Regions from separate parts of the Homo sapiens genome. Here regions 1 and 3 are each linked to region 2. The links are contacts of gene promoters, found by promoter capture Hi-C in blood cells and fetal thymus (Javierre and others, 2016). All regions are on one chromosome and are shown on one strand. Each heading gives the region's core, a stretch centred on a gene start or on the middle of the fragment in contact. The rest is flanking DNA. Distances are from core to core; before and after follow the strand shown. Region 1 holds the start of CYCS (cytochrome c, somatic). Region 2 holds the start of KLHL7 (kelch like family member 7). Region 3 holds the start of SPMIP4 (sperm microtubule inner protein 4).

Region 1 (3,649 bases), core at 1-2,500, 2.0 Mb after region 2:
AAGAGACCATGGAGATTTGGCCCAGTCTTGTGCTTGCCTCCCTTTTCAACGGTGTGGCACTGGGAACACTTCATAATAAAAATCTTCTTGCCTTTCTCAACATCACCCATATTTAATTCTAAAAACGAAAGCTTCAACTTAGTAAATTTTTCCTCAGGTAACAAATACAGTGTAAATGAATGACCACTCTAGCCACTTAATTACCAATCCATTGCTAATTTATGTCATTAAATACCAGAATGAATCTTGTTTTGCTTTAATACTCTTTATACCAAATATTCTTTAATACCAAAAACATTTTTAGGAGTACCTCCTCAAAAACGTATTTTTGTGTGTATACGTGAAGGAACGTTAAAGCCCAAGCAAAGAGGGAACCTAATTCAAACTCCAGTTTCAGAAGAGACAATCATGGTCACGAAGTCACAGATCTGAAGCTCAAGGGCGAACACATTAAGCCAAAATCACCACAACCGCAACTTTTAAAAAGACCTAACCATTTAATCTTACTACAATGTAAAGCCACCTCTCCCTGAGGATAACGCAAAGCACACAAATGTTTAAAAAGCGGTCCTGGCTGTTTCTATCTGCCCAGGTCACAGGAGTAGCTTGACACTCGAACTTGTGAATGGGAGCTCAGGGGCAGGCTGCACGGTCCCCCGGGGACATCCCAACTCCCCTACCTGTGATCTCCTGGGGCGACCACGAGGTCACCCGTCCAGGTCGGTTTCAAGGTGATTGATGAAACTCCTTCTAGGATGTCAGAACGACTGACGGAAGAAACATGTGCCCACGAAAAGAACTGGCCCCTTATTAGAAGAGCAACAGCTTTTGCCCTCTGAAGAAGAACGTGAAGCTCTAAGCTTCGGCTTTCCAGGAGGGAAGTCTTGCCTATCATTTCCATAGCCCTTCAGCAACCACTACGGAAGAGGCCGCCTCCTCCTCGGATCTGTATCCAAGCCGCCTCCAGTCCCTGACCGAGACCATACCTGTCCCTAGTTAGGGCTCCGCCGCACCTCAAGCCGTTACTCGCCCAGCTCGGTCTGACCACAGTCCAGGGTCTTCACTCCCCGCCCTCCCACCCAGCGCGGGCTCCACTCGAATGCTCCCCGCTTGGGTTTCGGTCGCTCGCAAGTGCGCGCCTCCCACAGCTCTGCCTCTAACCAGGTGCGGCCTCCGCGACCCGCTCTCACCTCTTTTTAGTCGCTGGCACAACGAACACTCCCGCTCCGAAGCCGGACGTCCCCACTCTCTAAGTCCAAGGACACGCCGGTCCGCGCTTAAGTACCGGTGTAAGTGCAACCAAACTCGCTCCGCGCTCCCGCGCCCTGACGTGCGGCCGAGCTGGCGGCTACGCAGTAACGTCGCCGCACCTCATTGGCTCCAGTCCCAATGCCTGCGCCAAGGACCTGCGCGCGCATGCTGGCGAGCATGTTAGGGTGTACGGCGTGCGTGCCCTTCTTCTCGAGGCTTTTCCCGGCCGTTACGACAGGCCTTTGGTCGTACGACAACGAGGTGGTGTCGGGAGAGGTGACGTCACTCGCGGGCCTCTGTGCGCTTGCGTGTGCTGGAGGAGCGGGGAGGGTGGGGCGGAGTCGCTTGGTTGGTGCGTTGCCCTGCTAAAGTATCAGTTCTTGGGCGTGGTGATGTAATGAGCTTTGAGCAGGGCGTTTTGCCGGTCCAGGAAAAGACGCCCTAATTTTGGCGCACCTAGAGGTCTCCTAGCTACCATCTTGTCAGCAGGCGACCTTTACCCAGACTCTGTCCTACTACCACGGCTGGCGCCAACAGCATCCTAGAGGGACAGCCTGGAACCAGGAGTTACACGAGTTGGGCACCAGCTCGTGACCTTGTTCTAGTTCCACCTATACTCTGTTACTTTCAGTCACATTCCAGCTCTCCGCTTGATGGACGCCCCAAGACTGAGGAAGGTGCTGCATTTGCGGCAGAGACAGGATTATCCCTCTGGAACTGAAAAATAAAATTAAGAGGATGCAATGATAACATTTATGTACCTTTTAAAATTTTTATGAGTACGAAGTAGGTAAATATATATATATACTTAAGAGGTACATGAGATATTTTGATACAGGCATACAATGTATAATAATCACATCAGGGTAAACGGTCTATCCATCACCTCAAGCATTTATCCTTTTTTTCTGTTACAAGCAATCCAATTATACTTTTAGTTTGTTTAATGTACAATAAATTATTGTTGAGTGTAGTCACCCTGTTGTATTACTAGACCTTATTCATTCTTCTTCAGTGGCGCCATTTAATGTCTCAGCCCCCCAAGTAGCTGGGACTACGGGAGCAAACCACCACGCCCAGCTAATTTTTGTATTTTTAGTAGAGATGGGGTTTCACTATTTGGTCAGGCTGGTCTCGAACTCCTGACCTCAGGTGATTCACCCGCATCGGCCTCCCAAAGTGCTGGGATTACAGGTGTGAGCCACCACGCCCAGGGCAAATAATATTTTATAACCCATTGTTTTAAACTGATGACAACATAACATTGATTGCATAAACAAAAATCAAAGAGAAAACTAAGAAAAACTCTGCACTTTAACTTCACTCTCCCCACTTTTAAAACTTTTTCTTGTTTCTATTTATATATTATTATACTATGTCTTGAAAAGTTGTTATAGCTATTATTTTTGATAAGTTAGGTTAATCTCTAAGTCTTTCTACTCAAGATATGAACAGTTTACACACAATTACAGTATTATAATATTGTGTGTTTTTCTGTGTACTTACTATTAGTAGTGAGTTTTGTACCTTCAGGTGGTTTCTTATTGCTTACGAATGTCCTTTTCTTTCAGACTGAGGAACTCCCTTTAGCATTTCTTGTAGGACAGGTCTGGTGTTGATGAAATCCCTCAGCTTCTGTTTGCCTGGGAAAGTCTTTATTTCTCCCTCACATCTGAAGGATATTTTCACTGGATGTACTATTCTAGGATAAAAGTTTTTTCCCTCAGCACTTTAAATATGTAATGCCACTCCCTCCCGGCCTGTAAAGTTCCACTGATAAGTTTGCTGCCAGACTTATTAGAACTCCTTTTTATGTTATTTGTTTCTTTTCTCTTGCTTGCTTTTAGGATTCTTTCTTTATCCTGGATCTTTGGGAGTTTGATTATTAAATGTTTTGGGGTGTCTTCGTTGGGTTAAATCTGCTTGGTGTTTTATAACCTTCTTGTACTTGAATATTGATATCTTTCTCTAGGTTTGGGAAGTTCTCTGTCATTATCTCGCTGAATAAACTTTCTACCCTGATCTCTCTCTCTAGCTCCTCTTTATGGCCAGTAACTCTTAGATTTGCCCTTTGAAGCCAGTTTCTAGATCTTATAGGTGTACCTCATTCATTTTTATTCTTTTTTCTTTTGTCTCTTCTGAGTGTGTATTTTCAAATAGCCCATCTTCAAGCTCACTAATTCTTCCTTCTGTTTGATCAATTCTGCCTGTAAGGGACTGCATTTTTTAGTACGTTAATTGGATTTTTCAGCTTCAGAATTTCTGCTAGATTCTTTTTAATTGTTTTAATCTCTGTTAAATTTATCTTGTAGAATTCTGAATTTCTTCTCTGTGTTATCTTGAATTTTGTTGAGCTTCCTCAACACAGCTATTTTGAATTCTCTGTTTGAAAAGTCAC
Region 2 (3,485 bases), core at 745-3,244:
ACTTTACTGCGATATTTACTTTATGTGGTGGTCTGGAACAGAACCCAAAATATCTCTGAAGTATGTGTGTATTATTAACTCAGTAAAGTAATTTTAAGTGTCTTGTGCTGGCACCCCTCTAAGCATTTTTATAAACCTTACGCCAGTTCCATGTAGTAGGTTCTACTTTCACAGATAAGGAGACTGAGGCATAACAGAAGTTAATCAATTTGCCCAAAGTTGCACAACTAGAAAGTTGAGATGTTTGACTTTGCATCCAGGCAAAGTCTCATGCTTAATCCCTGTACTATATAATCTCTGTGGCCTCTTTGAGCTCTGAATCCTATGGCTCTTCCATGAACTTTGATGTTTTATATTCAGCAATATGTAAAAAGACTGTTCTAACATCAAGGACTAAGGATGCTGTTCCTCGTTTCTTTTTTGCCTTATTACAGGACAGCATTCTTTTTCATCACTTACATTTCTGCCTTTGAATCACGGATCCTTCATCTCCCAAGGCCTTAGAGTTAGAAGACAGATTTCTACTTCTTTTCAATTAAAAAAAAAAGAAAAAAATTTATTCCGTTTTTCTTCAGTGTCCTGGGTCATTTAATAAAGTGAATGAAAAATTTTCTCATTTATAATTTTATTAACAATAAATTATTCCTATTGCCAGGGTTCACCTGAAATCCCCAAATCAACTAGTTAAAATAGAGGCACATCTGAGAACCTCTAGATTAATAGAAGAAAGATAAAGAGTACAGAGACATAAGTATCTTACTCTTTTGTAAAAATTGAGGCGTATATATAGCTTGCTCTTTCATCTGGATTATGCTATATGGTTTGTCCTCAACAAGAAAAGTATACTGTGGGCCAGGCCTGGCCGCTCATTCCTGTAATCCCAGCACTTTGGGAGGCCTAGGCGGGAGGATTGCATAACACCAGGAGTTCGAGACAAGCCTGGGCAACATAGTGTGACCTCTTCACCACCACCACCACCACCACCACCACCACCAAAAAAATTTAAAAATTAAAACTTAGCCCAGAGTGGTGTTGCACGCCTGTAGTTTCAGCTACTTGGGAGGCTGAGATGGGAGGATTGCTTGAGCCCAGGAGTGCTGAGGCTTCAGTGAGCTATGATTAGCCACTGCACCGCACCCCCAGCCTGGGCGACAGGGCCGAGACCCTGCCTCCAAAAAAAAAAAAAAAAGCCTCAATGGTGTAAATTATTTTACATAAAATGTCTCTGTATAGTCCTATATAGACCGAGGAGGAAAACCAATGAGATATAAAGTTTTCATAATGTTAAATAATGTACAATTTCAAATAATCCTGTATATTACTATACAGTAGAAAGAATATGGTTACAAAAAACATTTCCATGAGGGCTGTGATTGAGTTCCGTGTTCCCGTAAAACACTTAGAGAAGCCTAACTGAAGATTTCTAGAACCGACTGACAACTGATTTCAGTTGTAAACACACAGTAAGCCAGCCTAGTTAGGCAGACATTCATTGCACGCCAAGGAGACACCAACGGGACTGTGTGCTCTTGCGTTATGAATCCCACGAAAATAAATCTTGTGCTCCGTGTAACATGACTTTAACTTGCAGTAATATCCTTTCATCATTTAATATTTATTGAGCGCCTACCATACACCAGGCTCAGATACTGCACTGAACACCGACCCTGTCCCATGAAGCCTTACACTGATGGGAGACACCTTTGCATGTTCCACAACCCAATTATCAAAAAAAAAAAAAAAAAAAAGATAATCACGTAACCGAAACCTGGAAATCTGCCTTGGGCACACAAAAGAGCAGGCGCGACCTCGGACCAGCTCCGAGGCAAAATTCACTCAGCGCGGGACAGCGACAGGGAATCCGGCCGCACCTGTGCCTGCAGTCTCATTGCTCGGAACGGCGCGCCACTGTGACGTGTCAGGCCCCGCCCCTGACTCTCCTCATAGTGCCCCCGCCTCCTTGCGCGAAGTGCGCAGGCTCCTGGGCAGGGCTCGGGTTCTGCCCGGGGACGCAGCCCAGTTGGTAGCGTCGCTCCCTGAGCGTTTCTAAGGGGGCCGCCCGGCCTTGTCTTTCGGCAGTGGCCGAGCCACCGCCGCCTGCCGCGCGTTCCAGAGCTGGGCGCTGCAGCTGCACTGCCGATCGCCGTGTTTGGTCGATAGAATCCCCAGTGTGCCCAGAGAGTGCGACCCCTCGCCCGGCCCGGCGAGCCCCGGGCGTGAACCGAGCTGAGGGAGGATGGCAGCCTCTGGGGTGGAGAAGAGCAGCAAGAAGAAGACCGAGAAGAAACTTGCTGCTCGGGAAGAAGCTAAATTGTTGGCGGGTTTCATGGGCGTCATGAATAACATGCGGAAACAGGTACCGCCTCTGTGGGAGTGACGGACGACGGTGGGAGGTGGTCCGGGGCTCGGGCCCCTGGTTCCCGGGGTGGAACCCCGCGCCCTGTGGATCGCGCCCCTCTTTCTCTGTCCTCGCCCCTCCTTCCGTTTTCGCAGGCGAGCGATTCCGCAGTTGGTAGAGGGGCGCGTAAAACAATTCTCGAGCAAAAGTGCTTCTCGTCTGCCGAGGATGTAGCTCCCAAGTCAGACTCCTGGGGGACTCCTCAGGCTGGCTTTCGCCGTCGGGTATCGGTTGTGTAACAGCTCTGCCCTAGTTATCTCTTTGTGGGGCGAGGATCCTTCCATTGGCGAGCCGTTTTAAGGTGCCGTGAGATCTTGTGTGAAGAAACCCGTTGGCATAGCCCAAACCGAAGCCCCCAAAGGGAGGAGAGTTGCTGGCCTGACATCAGCTGCTCTTAAATAAGGATCCCCGCCCCCTCCTGTGTTCCCCGGTGGAGCTAGTTGAAGAGGAGTCCTCCTGTTCGTGCTAATTTAGAGCAGAAGCAGCCATCGATAAATACCATGCCATCTTCTAAGGGCACTGTGCGCCTCTGTTATTAAGAGGAGCTCTTTGTTCTGTCCTTGGTGTGTGGTGCATTCGTGAAATTCTGCAGCACATCGGCGAAAGGTGGGTTATGAAAAGAACGGATTTTAACGCTGGCGAAGGTGAAACAAAGAGGCTTTTTTTTTTTTTAATTCCATAACATCTACACCGATAAGCATAGAAAGTCACTTTTTCCTTTCTGTAAGCTTTATTTATAGATAATACACATCTAAGTAGATTTGTGGGAATGTTTGGGTTTTGTTGACTGGGATCCTGTTTCAAGGGGACAAAGCAGGATGTGAGTTATGTGTAACTGCAAAACCTAGTTTGCTTTGTCTGGTGGTTCTGCTGGGAATATGGGCAACAGTAGAGGAATTTAAGATTTTTATGAAGATATTAACTTCTGGTTTCTATAAGCAAACGCTGACTGCTGGGATTTTGTCTTTGTTCACCAGCTCCTGCTACAGTGCACCAGTGCAGTCTGTGGGAATGCTTTTAAATCTTTCCTGGCCTGGCCTTTGTGCTGAAGTACTGTGAATGCCTGAATTCGTTAATTTATGTAACT
Region 3 (3,600 bases), core at 681-3,180, 2.1 Mb after region 2:
ATCATAATGTATAATTAATGTGTTACAGGGAATTTGGTGAAGCAAAAATTTACACAAGTATAAGCAGCAAATTCTGGGAGTATTTTTGGGCAGATGGTAGAAGGGCATGTTAGGGAACCAATACAGTACTATTTATAAAAGTCTTTGCTTACAACATATTAATTTCCCAATGAAGGAACGGACCATTCTAAGATTTTAGAATGTAGTGGATGAATTTGATGTGTGGCTTTTATAGTAGACAGCCACTTACTTCTCGAGTTCCTTACAGACACTTGAAGGTTCAGATAATTGCCACGTTTTGCCTTCCCTATTATATGATAAGCAGAAGAGCCCCGGCCCGGCGCAGTGGTCACGCCTGTAATCCCAGCACTTTGGGAGGCCGAGGTGGGTGGATCATTTGAGGTCAGGAGTTTGAGAACAGCCTGGCCAACATAGTGAAACCCTGTCTCTACTAAAAATGCAAAAATATTAGCTGGGCATGGTGGTGCATGCCTGTAATCCCAGCTACTCTGGAGGGTGAGGCAGGAGAATCACCTGAACCTGGGAGGCAGAGGTCCCAGTGAGCCGAGATCGCACCACTACACTCCAGCCTGGGCGACAGAGCGAGACACCGTCTCAAAAACAAACAAACAAACAAACAAACAAGAAACAGAAGAGCCCCAGAACAATAAATGTTTTTCCTCACATAATAAAATACACGAATACATTAAAACTGCTTTTTCTTGTTTGCTTTTTCTAGTTTTTGTTTTACCTGTCCTCTGAGGCAGTTGGGCGAGTAACCGTCTGGAGGGGGTTGTGCAATTCATTAGAGTAAAAGGTGTTGGACAGTATGTCAGCTCCTTCAAGCTCCCTGCAACAGTAGGGCCTGCCGTGAATGACTTCCATGCTTCTTGGCTAAAAAGGCACAACCTGGAAAAGAAAAGGAGGGCACATTTGGCTTGTCGAGTCAAGGCAGGCAGAAAACACATTTTACACTGCTAAATTGTTCAACCTGACGCTGCACAGACGTCACAGGCTTCCCTCTGCACTGAAAGCCGTCAAATCAGTAATAAATAGAGACCTAAATAAGTTCTATGGAAATAAATTTCAACTGAAACAAATCCACAAAGTGGACGGTGCCTCCAAGTAGTCACCAGAATGATCATCCAGTAGGTTCGTACCAGTCCGCTACTTTGTGGCCATCAACTGACATTCAATTCCTGCCTTAAATTTAACTATAACTATTCAAGAAAACTCACTTGACTTTTAGCCTGTGGTCTTTCCGAAAATTAGAGACTCTTCATTCAACAAAATAAGCGCTGTCCTAAAGCCTTCGGGGATTCTGGACAAGAATCCCTTTGCAGATGGTGGAGTCAGTAGTGCAGCACGAACGGGACCCTAAAGGGGATTCCCGGTTTCCAACTGCGTCGGGGAGAATCCCACCTCTCTCTCGGACTTGGGGGAAGGCCAGGAGCCGGCGTAGCTGGGACCAAGGGTGCCAGGGGTCGAGGCCGAGCCTCACGGGCTGTCACTGCCCTGCAAGCGGTGCCTCGGGGGTCTGGACATACCTGGGACATGAGCCTGGGGGCGCTGCGGGACCGCGCCTCCCCTCCCCTCCCCGCAGCTGGCGGCCTTCGCGGGCCGAGGAATTTTGAGGTCGTCCGCACCTACGGCCCGGTGGAGCTGGCAGGCAGGGGCGGGGGCGGGAGAAGGACGGCGGGCAGGCCGGGGTGGGGTGGGGCTGGGGGCGCTTGTGACGGTGGCCGTGACCGCGGCATTAGGTGATGCGTCCTTGAGGGGCTGGGGGCTTCCGGGCGGCGAGCGGGGCGCAGTAGGAGGCTCTTAGAGACCTCGGAGGAAACCAGCCCAGCGCTACGGGACTGGCAAGAATGCGAAGAGGAACCGAGAGTGAACGGAGTGCGAGGCGCCGGGTCGGAGGCGAGAGGGGCTCTTCCGCCTTGCGACCCCTGGCCCCGCCTCCCGGTCCCTTGCCCCGCCCCTCTCGGCTCACCGCCCTGCCTCCAGTCGGACCCCGCCTTGCCCCACCCGCGCCCCGCCCCCAGGCGCCCTCTAGCGGCGGCGGCGATGGCGATACCAGTTTCTTTTTCCAGGGCTACCAGGTCTGGAGCTGTCTCAGGGCCGGCCAGGGAGCTCTCTCATGTGGACTGGGCGGAGGAGGAAGAGCTCCGGTCCAGTGGAGTCCCTGGTGAGGTCGGAGCATCCGACCTGTCCTCCCTCCCCAGGTCACCTCGCAAAAATTGGGGACAGTGTGGCCAGATAGAGGGTGGAGTCTGCAGGATTCTGAAACTGCAGCCCCTGGCATGGCGCCCTAACAGAGTCTCTGCTCCTTCCCTGGTGGGTGCGGACATGGCAAAGTCCTTTACTTGCCTCGTCCCCAGGGCCTAGCCCCACCTTGATTACCTCAGTTTTCCCCAAAAGATACAAATGTGAGCCATGAATCTGCACCTACAGGGTCATGAGTTCCTGTGATGGCTGACAATAAGGGATGTCACCCCCCCCTCGCCACCTGCCACCCCATCAAGGAATGGGATGTGAGGAGGTTAGGTTGTGTGTATATGTGTGATATGGTTAGGCTTTGTGTCCCCACTCAAATCTCATCTTGAATTGTAATACCCATAATCCCCGCTTGTCAAAGGAGAGACCAGGTGGAAGTAATTGGATCATGGGGGCAGTTTCCCCCATGCTGTTCTCGTAATAGCGAGTGAATTCTCACGAGATCTGATGGTTTTATAAGAGGCTCTTCTCCCTTCTCCCAGCACTTTTCCTTCCTGCCCCCTTGTGGAGAAGGTAACTGCTTCTCCGTGGCCTTCTGCCATGATTGTAAGTTTCCTGAGGCCTCCGCAGCCATGTGAGATTGTGAGTCAACTAAACCTCCTTCGTTTATAAATTACCCAGTCTTGGGCAGTTCTTTACAGCATTGTGAGAAAAGACTAATACAGTGTGGGAGGCTAGAAATGAGCCTGCAGGAACCAGAAGGTGAGGGTGAGAATGACCACCTCTGAGAAGAAGGGCGTTGAAACTGTGTGCCAAAGAGTTAAAGAAAACAGTCATAGAAATTCTTGAGTTTACAGGATGGCAGATAAAAGAAACAAATTGCTGAAATGCTGAAATGCCTGGGCTTGTAGGTTAATAAAACTGGCTGAAATCCACTGGAACATATAAGGCCAACTAGAGTCTGCACAGATCCAGCTTGCTGACCTTACAGCTGAATTTCTACTGCCATGTTTCATACTAACTCCTCACTGAATTTGCACGTGGAACCCTTAGGTAGCATGAAGAAATAAGAGCACATGCGCAAGGACTTTCCAGACTTCCTCTTTCCTTCCACCAAGCACCTGCTAATCCCAGAATCCACACTCAAAACCATTTCTAATAAAATAATTGTCCTAAAGCCAGCACAGGGAGACAGATTTGAGCTGGACTTCCTATTTCTTTGTTGGTTGACATGCAATAAAAGTTTTTATTTTATCAAAAACCCAGTGTTATAGTATTGACTTCTAGTGCCTCGGGCAGCGAGCCTCCTTTGCTTGGTAACAGTATGATGGTGCCTTTGCTATTCTCTGCCTACTTTACAACTTTCTACTAACCAACCAGTGGGCA

The links. The method cuts DNA at HindIII sites, captures the fragments that hold promoters and counts their contacts. A CHiCAGO score of 5 or more calls a contact.
Region 1: the fragment with the promoter of CYCS here is called in contact with the fragment with the promoter of KLHL7 in region 2 in 1 of 17 cell types (activated CD4 T cells); the score reaches 5.7 in activated CD4 T cells.
Region 3: the fragment with the promoter of SPMIP4 here is called in contact with the fragment with the promoter of KLHL7 in region 2 in 5 of 17 cell types (naive CD8 T cells, activated CD4 T cells, total CD8 T cells and 2 more); the score reaches 12.7 in naive CD8 T cells.

The regions. Positions count from the first base shown.
Region 1 is chr7:25,124,010-25,127,658 of GRCh38, forward strand. It overlaps CYCS (cytochrome c, somatic), which reads right to left and starts at 1,251. Exons shown (of 3, transcript NM_018947.6): 1 at 1,191-1,251; 2 at 1-118. The coding sequence starts at 110. It also overlaps a transcript of SPMIP4 not described here. RefSeq lists enhancers at 176-720, 721-1,264, 1,412-1,661. The HindIII fragment of the contact is 6,168 bases long and covers 859-3,649 here.
Region 2 is chr7:23,103,791-23,107,275 of GRCh38, forward strand. KLHL7 (kelch like family member 7) reads left to right here and starts at 1,995. Exons shown (of 11, transcript NM_001031710.3): 1 at 1,995-2,356. The coding sequence starts at 2,237. It overlaps KLHL7-DT (KLHL7 divergent transcript), which reads right to left and starts at 1,913. Exons shown (of 3, transcript NR_046220.1): 1 at 1,769-1,913; 2 at 460-527. RefSeq lists enhancers at 1,183-2,169, 1,792-1,981, 2,102-2,381, 2,170-3,156, 2,862-2,941. The HindIII fragment of the contact is 5,093 bases long and covers 1-3,124 here.
Region 3 is chr7:25,178,424-25,182,023 of GRCh38, forward strand. SPMIP4 (sperm microtubule inner protein 4) reads right to left here and starts at 1,931. Exons shown (of 10, transcript NM_138811.4): 1 at 1,239-1,931; 2 at 752-909. The coding sequence starts at 885. The region is part of intron 1 of LOC124901603 (a long non-coding RNA gene); the gene reads left to right. RefSeq lists silencers at 1,437-1,716, 1,777-2,166. The HindIII fragment of the contact is 8,567 bases long and covers 1-3,600 here.